3 separate regions of the Homo sapiens genome follow, and regions 1 and 3 are each linked to region 2. The links are contacts of gene promoters, found by promoter capture Hi-C in blood cells and fetal thymus (Javierre and others, 2016). All regions are on one chromosome and are shown on one strand. Each heading gives the region's core, a stretch centred on a gene start or on the middle of the fragment in contact. The rest is flanking DNA. Distances are from core to core; before and after follow the strand shown. Region 1 overlaps ZFYVE26 (zinc finger FYVE-type containing 26). Region 2 holds the start of DCAF5 (DDB1 and CUL4 associated factor 5). Region 3 holds the start of COX16 (cytochrome c oxidase assembly factor COX16).

Region 1 (4,663 bases), core at 387-2,886, 1.3 Mb before region 2:
AAAACCTTCTCCAATACCTCCAACCCATACAACTTCAATGTACTTAAAATTAGTACCATATGATTTAATACATAATAGTGTGTGTTTTAGTCCTTCTTCCTCAGTCACCTAAAAGCAAGAACCTCTAGAGCCTATCCTCTGTTTGCAGGGTGAGGGTACAGGGAGAGAAGGGGGTGAGAAGTAGGTTATTTCCCATACTTAAGCATCATGCCTATAGATGGTACTCGATGATGCCACTTCATTAACTGCCTCAGAGATGGACTGCAAGACCATGAGTCCTTTACCTAATACAAGTGAAAGTCCCTCTCTTAAATCCTACTGTAAATATGTCTTTAATTAACTGGTGTCAGGGTCATTAAAAAAATAAGTATTGGGCCTCAGAGCATATCTCAGGCACTAAAGTAGTAACTGATACATGCTATAACGATATAATTAAGACTTAATTTGAATCTACCCCCAGAAGGTTGTTATGAGAATTAACTCTAACACATTCAGTGACCCTGTTATAGAAAAGATAGTCAACGAATACTAGTTCCTTGTCCCCTTCATATTCCCTGCTATCTACTAATAAATCTTTAATTCCCAGTTATACTTGGTACTTCTGGACAACCACATCAAAAATTCTAAAATCATATAAGTTTACCCTAACTCTAAACTCTCCTCAAAGGAGCTTCTGTGTTGCCTTGCCTGAGAACAAAGTATGGGCAACATCTTGGAGACCTCTCTCTTCTGGGTCCATGGAAGCTAAGCTGCTTAAGTGACTGTCAACCCTGGGCAGATGGTACCAGGGCTCTCTCTCACCTCGAGGATGTTCTCTGGAATGTCACCTTGGAGGTCTTCTGACAATAAAAGAAACTCAAGCTTTCTCCGGAAAACAACTGGGAGTAACTTCTAGAAGAATCAAAAGAATGAAGCATAGAGATGAGATATATGTTTTAGTTAACAAATTATAATTAAATATTTCTGTCCAGTTAGTCTTATTTCTGCTATTTCTCTAAGATGAAGCACTCTTTTTTTTTTTTTTTTTTTTTTTTTTTATTTTGAGACAGAGTCTTGCTCTGTTCCCCAGGCTGGAGTACCGTGGCATGATTTTAGCTTACCGCAACCTCCACCTCCCAGCTTCAAGCGATTCTCAGGCCTCAGCCTCCCGAGTAGCTGGGATTACAGGTGCGCACCACCACGTCCAGCTAATTTTTATATTTTTATTAGAGACAGGGTGTCACCATTTGGCCAAGCTGGTCTGGAACTCCTGACCTCAAGTGTTCCACTCACCTCGGCCTCCCAAAGTGCTGGGATTACAGATGTGAGCTACCACGCCTGGCCTAAGATAAAGTACTTTTAAACACAACATTCCTGGATATGTTTTCAGTACTATTCTTTTCTCTTTTTTTTTTTTTTTTTTTTGAGATAGAGTCTCGCTCTGTTGCCCAGGCTGGAGTGTAGTGGCGCAATCTCAGCTCATTGCAACCTCCGCCTCCTGGGTTCAAGCGATTCTCCTGCCTCAGGCTCCCGAGAAGCTGGGACTATAGGCGTGTGCCACCACTTCTGGCTAATTTTGTGTATTTGTAGTAGAGATGGGGTTTCACCGTGTTAGCCAGGATGGTCTTGATCTCCTGACCTCGTGATCCGCCTGCCTCGGCCTTCCAAAGTGCTGGGATTACAGGCGTGAGCCACCGTGCCTGGCACAGATACTATTCTTTATAAACAAAAATAGCTAAACTTGGACATACACTTCTCTTAAAAACTAATACTTAAAGCCCACACTGATCAGCCGTAAGTTCCAAGGTTTGTTCATTTCATTAACCTTTTTTGTCACTTGAGGTCTTTCCCCAAGAATCTCTCTTGTTGTGTTCAAAACACCCAGTTGTGGGTAAGCCTGGGAGGGTATGGCCCACATGATCCTCTTTTGGTCCAAACCTCTGTTTTTGTCATTCACTATCCTTTGCATAGCAGTGAAAGAAGAACAGTATAAGGGGAGAAATCCAATGTTTATTAAACACTTATTATATGCCAGTACCTCACAGGTACTGTGTGCCATATTTTATTCTTAATACACTTAATTTCCAAATCAAACAAAACTGTGGCACATATTTATATATTTTTTACAAATAATCTTTACTAGAGGTAAAATGGTTAGGAAGCATTTTTCCCAATTTTTTCAAACAAAAAGGAAAAGGTGATCCCAGTGTTTGTTAATGAGATGTGCCATCAGAGAGGTCTAATATATAGAGACAAAGGCTCTGACTCTTCCTGCGCCTGCTTGTTTCACAATAACTTACCTTCACCTGGTCCCTAACACACAAATTGGAGTCTCCCCTTTTCCAGACACAAATAAAAATAGCAAGAGTCTGAGACTTATCCTGACAAACACTACCTTAAATATGAGACATCTGTCAATCTTGCCTCTGGTTAAAGCTTCCCAAAGATAAGTTTTATTGGAAGGCAAGGAACACCTGCAGGGATGTGTGTGTGTGAGAGTGTGTGTGTGTGTACAGCTGCAGGTGTGTGTGTGTACATGAGTGAGGAGAGTTTAGAGCACAAGACCTAACTATCTCCATTCATGTACCATTCACCACATCAGAGGCTAACATGATCTAATGTGTTCTTGGTCCAAAATCTTATTTCTTCTAACCATGTACTTCCCTAATATGTGCATCAAGGCCATGTGAATGCTTGTATAATGCCTGTGATTGGAAGCTGGTGGATAAAATTCATGCTGGGAAGCTGAGGATTAGTGCTTCTATTGAAGACTAACAGAAAAGAATAGATAAGATGTCTAGGACAGCAGATCCTTAATAGCCTGGCTAAGATTTTATTTAGAATCCTAAAGACTGAGTAGATTATACTTATTTTACTGCTGAAACTACTTTAAACATATTCAGGATCATAATTGACTAACATTTATCTTCCTAAAATAGGCAAGAATTTGCTCAGCATTTCTAAGCAAGGATGTCATGCAAAAGTGGAACCAAAGACAAAATTAATTCTGGTGACCGAGAGGAGCAAAAATTTAAAAAACTGGCAAAATTATAGACATCTTAAAAGTAGAATTTGTGGTTTCTTAGTTTTAAGTCCATCTGGGCTAAAAAAGTAGTGTTAAGGCAGAAAAAGCAGAGGATTGAGGTCAGAAGATTTTGGTTTCAGCAGCAGTTCTGTCAAATAACTTTACGGTTACAAGAGCAAGGCATGTTCAATGTAGAAAAATTGAATATACAAATAAGTAAACTAAAATATGTTATATATATATAAAACATATGTATGTCCAGTTAGTCTTATTTCTGCTATTTCTCTAAGATAAAGTGTTTTATCCTAGAGAGAGATATGTAACATATATGTTATATTTTAGTGCAATATAATATATATAACATATGTTAGTTTGCTTATTTGTATATTTAATTTTGTAATTTTACAAATTTAATTGGTGTATTTAGTTACATATGAAATATATAATATATAACATATATGAAATTTATGATATATAACAAATATAAAATATATGATATATAACATGTATTATATATGAAATATATATCACATATGAAATATATTACATATAACATATTATATATGAAATATATATTTTATATATATTCTCACTGAAGGAGAACAATTATGAAAACTGTGGTCTAAGGCCATTCATTCAGACCATTTGCTATGCACATCTCTATGCATGTATACCAAATGTACTTTTTTCTAAACTGCCTTTTTTCCCATACAGCAGACCATGAACACTCTATGTTAGTGAAAACTCATTTGCCAAATACTTTTGAATAGTGGTATAGTATTTTACATATAGATATATTTCCATTTATTAACCTGTCCTATACTATGGACATGGGAGTTGTTTCAGTTTTCTTCTAATAGAAGTAGCATAGACGTGAACATTTCTGCAGCTAAATCTTTGTATAATTGCTTACACATGGAGAGATACATCTCTGCAAGATTAAAAGGCAGAAGGCAAAAATGAATGGAGGAAAGGGAAAATAGAATCACTATTTCATCTAATAATTAAAAGGGAAGCTTTTGGCAAAAGGTGGGAACCTGGAAAAGGACAGGCAGCCAGTAAATTCCTAGATGATGAAGGCACCTTCAGGATAATGACTGGACTTGGAAAACTACCCCAAGAATTCACTGGACGCCATGGTGCTTATATAGTTTTAAAATTCTATGAGGAACTAAAATAGTCCCACAACTGTTTAAATAAGCAAGTCATTGAAGCTTTAAAGACCAAATAATCTATTTGTGAACCTGGGAAAAACAAGAACGGGAAGTGGAATCCATCTCCTGACATAGTTGAGCAACTGTCTAGAAAATAAGCAACCATTCAGATATAAAGTAAGCAAATAGTCTCTACTGAGGGGAAAGTTAATTTGATTTGACAAATTCCATGTTTGTACTAGAGAGATCCCTTAATCAGTAACAATAGTTCTTTTTCTCTTTGAAGATACTATAGTAACTATAGGTTACTATTTTAGTTCAAGTTTTCTCTTTTAAATCTGAAACCATAGCCAACTCTTAATGATGCTGGGTTTCATTATGTTTCAATCTTGTTTTTCTTTCTTCTCGCTCCTACTAGTCTTTCTGTCATTTTTCTTTCCTAAACAACTGGCTAAATCCTGGATAAGAGATACATTCAGATTAGCAATTTCTGTTACTTTTTGAC
Region 2 (4,296 bases), core at 1,231-3,730:
CACTTTACGGGGTGAGGCAGGAGGATTACTTAAGGCCAAGAGTTCAAGACTAGCCTGGGCAACATAGGGAGACTCCACCTCTACAAAAAAAAAAAAAGTTTAAATTACCTGGGCATGATAGCACCTGCCTGTAGTCCCAGCTACTTGGGAGGCTGAGGTGGGAGGTTAGCTTGAGCCTGGGAGATCAAGGCTGCAGTGAGCAGTGAGTGATAGCCCACTGCACTCCAGCCTGGGCAACAGAGTGATACCCTGTCTCAAATAAATACGTAAATAAAGGTGTGTCAAGCTGGGCAACGTGTGACTACTTACAATTCCGTTAACATGATTAGTTCAGTTGTCTCTAAAAGAGTACCCCCAAACTCCCTCACTCGGTAGGTAAAGTTTACTTGTGTCTGGGAACTTCTCTGTTGTAATACATCGGGAGTTTTATGAATACATAAAAAACAACAGCAGGGAAACTGGGAGCTAGGTCTATAAAGAAGAGGTCTTCCCCCATTTTTGCTCTTCAAATTTATTTGATAAAATTTTATACGGTGCTGTGGGGGAAGGAGGCTTTTGTCTGAAAGATCAGGTTTCTTCAGAGGATGATCTAGGGCCAAAATCTACCTAGTCAAAGAGAAAACGATCTGGGGTACAAAAGTCAAGTCAGTTCTGGACAGACCCCAGAAGGTTTATCATAAAATGATCACAGAAGACCTTTCTCTTTGCTACCCCCAAATTGGACTGTACGCCCCATGTCACTTCCGAAGGTTACTCGCGAAGACGGATGCTTTGCCAAGATCCCAGAAGTTTCTGGCGAGCTGCTCACGGACACAAATTAGAAAGACATTCAGGGACCGACCTGGGTGAAGCTAAGCGCCACGTCCAGCGCTGGGTTCCCCCTTCATCCCTCCCAATATAGGAAAAGGGACAGAAGAGGGCAGCAGCCAAGCAGGAACGCCCAATCAGCCGTCTTCACCCCCCCTCCCCTGAGCCAGGTTTCGGGGAGCCGCCCCCTAGCCCTCACGTAGGCCCATTCCCACCCGCCCCTGCCCTGGGCCCGCGACCCCAGGGAGGAGGGGACGACGGCGGCGAGCGCCCCCACCGGCAGCAGGCGCACCTCCCCAGGGGCAGCTGTCGCCGCGGCCCGCGGGGCCCGGGCCTCCCCGGGAGCAATAGGCTATCGATTCAGCTGCCTGTCGCTAGGAGCCCCGGGAGAGCGAGGCCTACACCGCCCGGCCGGAGCCCCGGCCTCGATTTCGCCACTTTCCCCAAACCAGAGGGAGAGCCCGGGGGCAACCAGGCCCGTCTGGGCGAGAGGGAGGAGAAGCAGAGACCACTTGCAACAGCGGCCGCGGGAAACGGGGTGCGGGGCGCCGGGCTCCCGCCAACAAGTCTCCCGGGGGTCCCCCACCCTACCGCCTGCCTCGCAAGTTGCGCATTCAAGTTCAGGCTGGTGCCCTTTAGCCTCCACAGCCCTCGCCACTCTCGAAACTGTATTAAAAACAAGACGCAGAAGAGGCCACAACCGAACGAAAGGCGATGGTGCTGGGCCTCTAAGAGCGCCGAGGGGGGCGGCCCACAGCGACCCTACCGCCCCAGTCACTTCCCCTCTGCAGACCCCGCCAGCCCCCGGGTCGCAGCCCCCGGCCCCTCGGCGTCCGGGTCTGTCACCGCCCGCTTCCCAGCCCCAAGACCCCTTTTCCTTAACGCCGGCGACGGGGGCTTCAGCTCCCCCTTGCCTCCGGCGCTCCTCGGCCTCCTCACCCTCCACATCCCCAAAATGCCCCCAGCACCTTTTAAAGTACGCGGAGGAAGAGTTTGCCGTCAAACTTTGTAGAGCGGTAACCTCGCCCCCCTCCCCGACCTACACTTTCAGGGCAGGCATCAGGAGAGATCACTTTGCACTTGGGATAAAGCGAATTAAGGAGCTGTCAACCATTTTAGGTCTTTTTTATAGAAGACATCCTCTCCTTCCCCTCCCCCTGCAATGGTTTTAATTTGACACCAAACCTTCCCACCGCAGAAGGGGGTAGAGAAAGGGAGGGGGTGGGGACAGAGGGCAGGAGGAGGGTGACGGGGGAGAGCGAGAGGGGGAGGCTGGGAGGGTGCGGGGAGGCGCGGGGAGGGGAAGGGGGTTGATTTACCTGAGACCAGCCACTGGCCTCCATTGTTGGAGAATTCAATGGCATTGACACAGCCGAAGTGGCCGAGGAGGTCCTTCTTGTAGAGGTTTCTGCAGCCCCGCAGGCGTCTCCTCTGAAAGTCCTGAGTGAGCAGGGGGTCCCCATGCAAGCCCCGCTGGGACAAGAAGCCCACCACTGACCTCATGCTGCCCCCCAGGCCAGCTCTCCTCTTCATGCTGGAACCGCCGCCGCCGCCGCTCGCGCCGCCGCCCCTCCCTCGGCCTCACGCGCGGCCGCTGCTCCCCCCACCCGGCCCTCCCCCCGCGCTGCGATCCGGATGGTTCTTTAACCAGCCATGGCAGGCAGAGCGAGGTGTGCAGACACTCGGCGGCGTTCGCGGCTTCCTGACGGTCCCCTCCCTCTCCTTCCCCCCGAGGCTCCTCCCTCTGCCTCTCCGCCTCCTCCAGCAGCTGATCCTCAGCTGCCGCCGCGCTTCCGCGATGCGCGGCCCTTCCGCCGGCTGCGGGGCCCCGAGAACGCGGCGTCGGCGCCCCTCCCCTCCGCGGGGGGCTGGCCGGAAGAACGCGGGCGGCCGGCCCGGAGACCACGGGCGCCGGCTGCTTTCCCAGTTGAGCCGCTTCCCGCCTGGGGACCTGGGTGGCGCCGGGCGGAGACCCCTCTGCACCCCAGCGCCCCGCACTCCGCGGAGTTGAATGCGCGTAACAATCCGAGTGGCCGCCGGGCTTTGGCTCGCCTTCCTCCCGCGGGGACCCGCGGGCCGGCTGCTGCCCGGAGGCCAGCGCCCGTACGAGTTCGGGGAAAATGCGGCTGGAGTGGGGGAAGGTGCGGGCGGGGGCTCCGGCCCTCCTTCCTCTGCTGGCCTCTGCCTTGGGCAGTCCGGCCCTGCCCGAGGCGGGGGAACCGGGAGGTAGGGCCGCACACTTGGAGGAACGTTGCCTGGGGGTTTTGTTCGCGCACCCGCCCCTTCCCCTCTCCCGGTAAATGTTTAACACCACCGCTCATCCCCAAGTCCAGTTCTCTAACTCTTCCTTCCTCCGGTCCTTTAGTTGAAAAAGGCTAAATTGTTCCGTCTGGCAGATTAGAGTGGTACATGGGGGGAAAGAGAAAGGGATAAAGAAGTAGGAAGAAAATTGCCAAAACCGAGTTGATGAAGTCCCGAGAAGCACGAGGTACTTCTCTCCGTTCCAGATAAATTTGCACGACACAAGAAGCGTGATTTGAAACTAACGATATATGTTATTTAATTGGGTTCGGTGAGCTCCTCTTAAAGGTCTCGAGTGGGGAGCACTGAGGTTGGACAGCTGTTAACCAGCAGCTGCGCTCCAGGCCAGAAGTGGCTGCACTTCAGTAGGATGGGAGTCACCGCGTTGACCCTAGTGGGTGTTAAATGCTTTGGAATTCTACCAGATACAGTTAAAAGTCCCCTTTTCGATGTATTATAGTACTTTTCCTGGAAGCTATCCTCTGTCATTAAGTGGTAATAAGCTACTGAAATAGGCACTTGTCAGTTTTGCCCTTTCAAGTTAGCAGGAATTACATCCTCTGGACCAGAGATGGCACAGGAGCAGTTGAGTAGAATCATCATTGAAAGATGGGCTGTACATCTCTGATCTGGGGAAAATAATAATAATTTTTTTTAAAAAAAAAGATCGGCTGAACATGGAAGAGGTTTACCCGTCAAACAAAATTATTTACTTCTACTTTTTGTTCAGTGACAATACGATTAATCGTACTAATAACAAATATGCAAATGTTTCATATAAAAGTACATATTCTAGCAAACATTACTAAACAGAAACCAAATTCCATCAGAACTTGGGGAAAAGGGCAAAAAATAAATAAATTTTTAAAAGAAAGAAATCAAATTCCAAAAATGTGAATTTTAATGGAATATTGTTCCCCTAAATAGGAAACTATGTGGTACTTAAAAGGTTTTATCCTCAGGATGCCTTCTAATAATCCTTTGTGTTTATTCATTATAATCACCACCTAAAAATTAGTAGCAGTATACCAGCTTTATTAAAGATGTATAGCACCAAACATCCTTCTGTCATTGCAATGTCAAAATGTGTAATTAATCATTTATTTTTGTGATGATATGAGTCTCCCCACTCTGCTGTAAGTTCTCTGAGAGCAGGGACTACGTCTGTTCTGCTCAAGGGTGTATGCC
Region 3 (4,746 bases), core at 2,231-4,730, 1.2 Mb after region 2:
GTGGCGGGGGTGGGGGGTGGGATGGCAGTTTGGGGATGAAACTGTTCCACTTTAGATCATCAGACATTAGATCTCATAAGGAGCATGCAACCTAGATCCCTCACATGTGCAGTTCACAATAGGACTCGTGCTCCTATGAGAATCTAATGCCACCTCTGATCTGACAGGAGGTGGAGCTCAGGCAATAATGCCCACTCACCTACTGCTCACCTCCTACTGTGCAGCCCAGTTCCTAACAGGCCACAAACCAGTACCAGTCCGTGGCCCAGGGGTTGAGGACCCCTGCTTTCTAGCAACACAAATGGACTAAGACAAACTTGAATTTTAAAAAGGCTATGGAGAGATGCTAACACAGAGATAAATCAGAGATTAGAATTATCTGACAAAGATGACGAAGACCTCAAAGGAAACATCATAAAAATACTTCAAACAACAACAGATTTTCTTGAAACAAATGGAAAATTAGAAAATCTCGCCAAAGACATAGAAGATATAAAGAAGAACCAAAGGGTGATATCAGTGACATGGTGGAGTATCTCCAAAAATCCTTTCCTCCACAAAAACGAGAATATTTGTAAAAAATTGTCAAATAAACTTTTTTAGAACTCTGAAAATTAAGCAAAAACTTGCAACAATGTGCACAGTATTTACCTAAGAAAAATGCCTGAATCTCAGGAAGAACAGCTTGGTGGCATTTTTAATTTGTCATATTCTCACCCCTCCACCCAAGCTCCGTAACAACCATGAAAACCAACAGCCTGCAAACATGATGTAAAGCCTGGCACCAAGTGAAGAGGGTAGAGAGGTTGGAGCTCTTTAAAACACCATTCTGTGAGAAATGTCATCATTTCACCAGTCTGGTACTTCCTGGAAGATGCTATTCACAAAGCTCTCTGTAGTTTACCTGACATGGAGCTCAACTAGTATGAACAGACTTCTCCTAGGAAGCGTTTGTCAAAAAAAAAAAAAAAAAAAAAAAAAAAAAAAAATTCAGAGGTAATTGTTTAACATTATGACTGTCTGATGTGGTAGATAATAGGAATAAGGTGTCCTTAGAGGACTCTGAAAAGCTCAAATATATTCCTGAGAATTTAGAAAGTCATGCAAATAACTAGAACTGTGTACATGCCCAGAGCAATGTATATGCCCAAGAAAGACCTGAGAAGGCCCTAAATTCTCAACTTATGACTAATTTGAAGCTCTGAGCAAGTAAGAAGTGAAGGCTATACATGGAGCTGTAAATTGCATGGCTGAATGTTGAAAGCATGCCCAAAAAAGCATGCAGAGCCTCTCGACAAAGACTGGCAGATTTGTTGGTTTTGGGTTTTAAAGAAACCTCTGTCCAATAAAAGGAAACATAGTCCAATTAAAAAATGGGCAAAGGATTTGAACAGACATTTCTCCAAAAAGATATTCAAATGACCAATAAACATTTGAAAAGATGCTCAACATAATAAGTCGTTAGGGAAATGAAAATCAAAACCACAATGAGGTATCACTTCACACCTACTAGAAAGGGTAATAATTCAAAAGATGGACAATAACAAGTGTTGGCAAGGATGTGGAGAAATTGAAAATCATATCTTGCTGGTGGGAATGTAAAATGATGCAGCCACTTTGGAAAACATCTGGCACATCCTAAAAAGTTGAAGAGTTACCATATGACCTAGCAATTCCACGTCTAGGTATATTCCCTACCTGAGAGAAATGAAAACATACTTCCACACAAAGCGTGTACATAAATGTTCATAGCAGCATTATTCATAATAGTCAAAAATTGAAACAACCCAAATGTTCATCAATTGATAAAATATATCCAAACAATGGAATTATATCCATCAAAAGGAATGAAGTATTGATATATGTTACAATGTGAATGAACCTTAAAAACATTCTAAGTGGAAGAATCCAGTCACAAAAAACCCACGTTGTATTAGTGTGTTAATATGAAATGTGCAGAATAAGCAAATTTACGGGTAGAAGTAGATTAGTGGTTTACCAGGCCAGCATTAAGAGGCAGGAAGAAATGGGAAGTGACTACTATTAGTTATGATGCTTTTTTGGGGGCAATGAAAATGTTCTAAAATTGTGGTGATGGCTCCATAACTAAGAATATACTAATATACGAATATATTAGTATACTAATATCGAATTTGCTAAAAACAACAATTTTTTTTTTTTTTTTTTTTTTTGGAGAGACAGAGGTCTTGCTGGTTTGGAACTCCTGACCTAAAGCGATCCTCCTGTCTTGGCTTCCCCTAACACTGGGATTACAGGTGTGAGCCATCGTGCTTGGCCCAGATACTTCAAATGGGTGAATCTTTTGGAGATTCCTAAAATCCACATTTGATGAATGTGGATTTTTCAAAACTGTGTAAAATATCCATTACCTTTCTAAGATCACTTCTTTCCTTTAGTCTGCTTAAATGGAAAAGCTGGTAATTTCATCTGCGCCAACATTCATACAAAATAAAAATATAGTCTGTATTTAAAAGCAGCTTTTGTTCATATGCTTTAATTATTTCATTTACTAACACATCAAGGCTTGCTGAAGCAAAATAACTGGCCCGTAATCAAAAAGCAAATAAGAGTCATCTGGATTTCAACTCTGGTTGTCTTAAGCCAGCCTCAGCCTGCATTTCATGACATCCTTAGGGAACTCAGTGTGGATATGGATGAAACCATATAAACACGGAAGCTGTTTTCAACGTGCTTTAGAAATTATAACACAGCAATCATTCTGGCTACAATGTGGCAGGCACCGTACTCAACACTTTATTCACAAGGTGTTATTAGTTCATCACAACTCTAAGTATTAAGCTAATTCACAAACTAGAAAGATGAAACAGAAAGATACCAGGAATTCGTGCAGTTAAATGGAATACATCTAGTCCCAATGATCCACAGTATCGTCAAAACATAGCTAAGTTGGGGGCGAGGAAGCAAGCTTAGTAATCATCCAAACTTGGCTTAAAGTGTGGTTCTGACTGAATTCTCTGAGCTTCAATTTACTTAACTGTGAATCAAGGGTAGTAACAATGACCGCGTTCGACGATGGGAAAGACGCCACGCTCACAAGCAGACAGATCCTAGTACACCTGAAATCCAACCGGGAGTGGGGGACAGCGGCGGGGAAGTGGGGGTGTGGAAAAGACTGGTGGAAGAGCTTTTAGGAAAGCTCTCACCCCGTCGCTAGCTCCTTCCTAGCCCGAGTGCCAGCCCTTAACTTCACATTTTACAGATTCCCTCCCAGGTCTTGATCCTGCCAAGGAGGAGGGTCCCACCCCTTGCGGAAGATCCTCCTCACTCCACTCACCAACATGGGGACTCCATAGCCGAGAGTCTTGTTCTTGCGAAAAGCACGCATCACCGCGGGTGCAAACATGAGTGAACTCTTCCATCGGCTCAGAACTCCAAGCGGGCCTAGCGCAGACTCCCAAATCTCAGCAGCTCACGCTCTCACCAAGACGAGTACGTCCTTAACTCACTTCCTTTTCCTTGGTTATTTGGTGCTCGGTCCTTAGTGAATGGTTTCCGCTAGGCAAAAGCAATCGAGCCATCGTAACATACTTGTGCGTCCGCCCAGAAATGTGGGCGTCAGCGTTTTTGGTTCCGTAACGTCGGCGTGCAATTGGGATTTAGAGATTTGAATCGGTTTACGATCACCACCAAATTGATCTGGAAACCAGTACTTCCCACGTTCTGGGTCCTAACTAACGTCTGCTTAGAACACTCCCTTAGGCACATAGCCACTCGATAAAATCAGCTAAGGAAAAAAGTATTTTGAGGCCGGGCGCGGTGGCCTGGGTGGGTGGCCTGTAATCCCAGCACTTTGGGAGGCCGAGGCCGGTAGATCACCTGAGGTCAGGAGTTCTAGATCAGCCTGGTCAACATGGTAAAACCCCGTCTCTATTAAAAAAAAAAAATACAAAAATTAGCCGGGCGTGGTGGCAGGCGCCTGTAATCCCAGCTACTGGGGGGCCGAGGCAGGAGAATCGCTTGAACCCGGGAGGCGGAGGTTGCAATGAGCAGAGATCGCGCCATCGCACTCCAGCCTGGGGAACAAGAGCGAGACTTCGTCTCAAAAAGAAAAAAGAAAAAAAAGTATTTTGAAGCTGGTACTCCAGTCTTTATGGCTATTTGTGGGATGAGGAATTTGCCAGTTTAATGGAGACTTTTAAAAATAAATCGCTTTTGAAAGATTAGGTTGAAATGTAATCAGTGTAGTGTCTCATCAGTCATTACTGAACTTTTAATGCTAATGATTTTACTGTGAGATAACCTGTAATCTTTAGTCATTTATGAATGTCTATTTACCAATGATTCAGCAACCATACAGGCCACCTTTCAGCGTGTCTTTGAAAGGGTTCTAGGAACACAGATAAAAATATATGATCCTTACCTTAAAGACACTGGCGATTTCATGGGCACAGAAACAAACATGTGTGAAGTACTGGGATAGCTTAGGAAGCCGATCCCCCACGTGTCCCATTTACCAGAGTGAATCAGAGTGCAGGTGATGCGGAATATTATCTTCCATGCTATTCCTGAAATATTTCCATCTGTCCCTGCCTCTCTGTTACCACTGAAATGTTCCTTTTTTTAATTCCTTATCATCTTTTCACCTATTAAAGTAGCCTCTTAAGTGGTCTCCAGAAGAGAAGCTCCAGATCTACTGCAGGCTACTCCAGTGAAACTTATCCTTTTGGCTAAGATCAAGTGTAGTATCTGTTCTTAACAGTTTAA

Evidence for each region. Contacts are between HindIII fragments. The CHiCAGO score rates a contact against its expected background, and 5 or more counts as called.
Region 1: a fragment that was not itself captured here is called in contact with the fragment with the promoter of DCAF5 in region 2 in 1 of 17 cell types (neutrophils); the score reaches 6.6 in neutrophils.
Region 3: a contact is called between the fragment with the promoter of COX16 here and the fragment with the promoter of DCAF5 in region 2, in 1 of 17 cell types (naive B cells). The highest score is 5.0, in naive B cells.

What each region holds. Positions count from the first base shown.
Region 1 is chr14:67,808,399-67,813,061 of GRCh38, forward strand. ZFYVE26 (zinc finger FYVE-type containing 26) reads right to left here. Exons shown (of 42, transcript NM_015346.4): 4 at 802-891. Among named protein-coding and RNA genes, the nearest start is that of ZFYVE26, 5.9 kb to the right of the region's middle. The HindIII fragment of the contact is 1,554 bases long and covers 860-2,413 here.
Region 2 is chr14:69,150,639-69,154,934 of GRCh38, forward strand. DCAF5 (DDB1 and CUL4 associated factor 5) reads right to left here and starts at 2,481. Exons shown (of 9, transcript NM_003861.3): 1 at 2,127-2,481. The coding sequence starts at 2,340. RefSeq lists silencers at 796-1,255, 1,416-1,465, 2,286-2,925. The HindIII fragment of the contact is 17,790 bases long and covers 1-4,296 here.
Region 3 is chr14:70,356,203-70,360,948 of GRCh38, forward strand. COX16 (cytochrome c oxidase assembly factor COX16) reads right to left here and starts at 3,481. Exons shown (of 4, transcript NM_016468.7): 1 at 3,317-3,481. The coding sequence starts at 3,385. All of the region lies in intron 3 of SYNJ2BP-COX16 (SYNJ2BP-COX16 readthrough), which reads right to left. It also overlaps the pseudogene RNU2-51P. RefSeq lists enhancers at 3,201-3,510, 3,971-4,060. The HindIII fragment of the contact is 4,146 bases long and covers 2,946-4,746 here.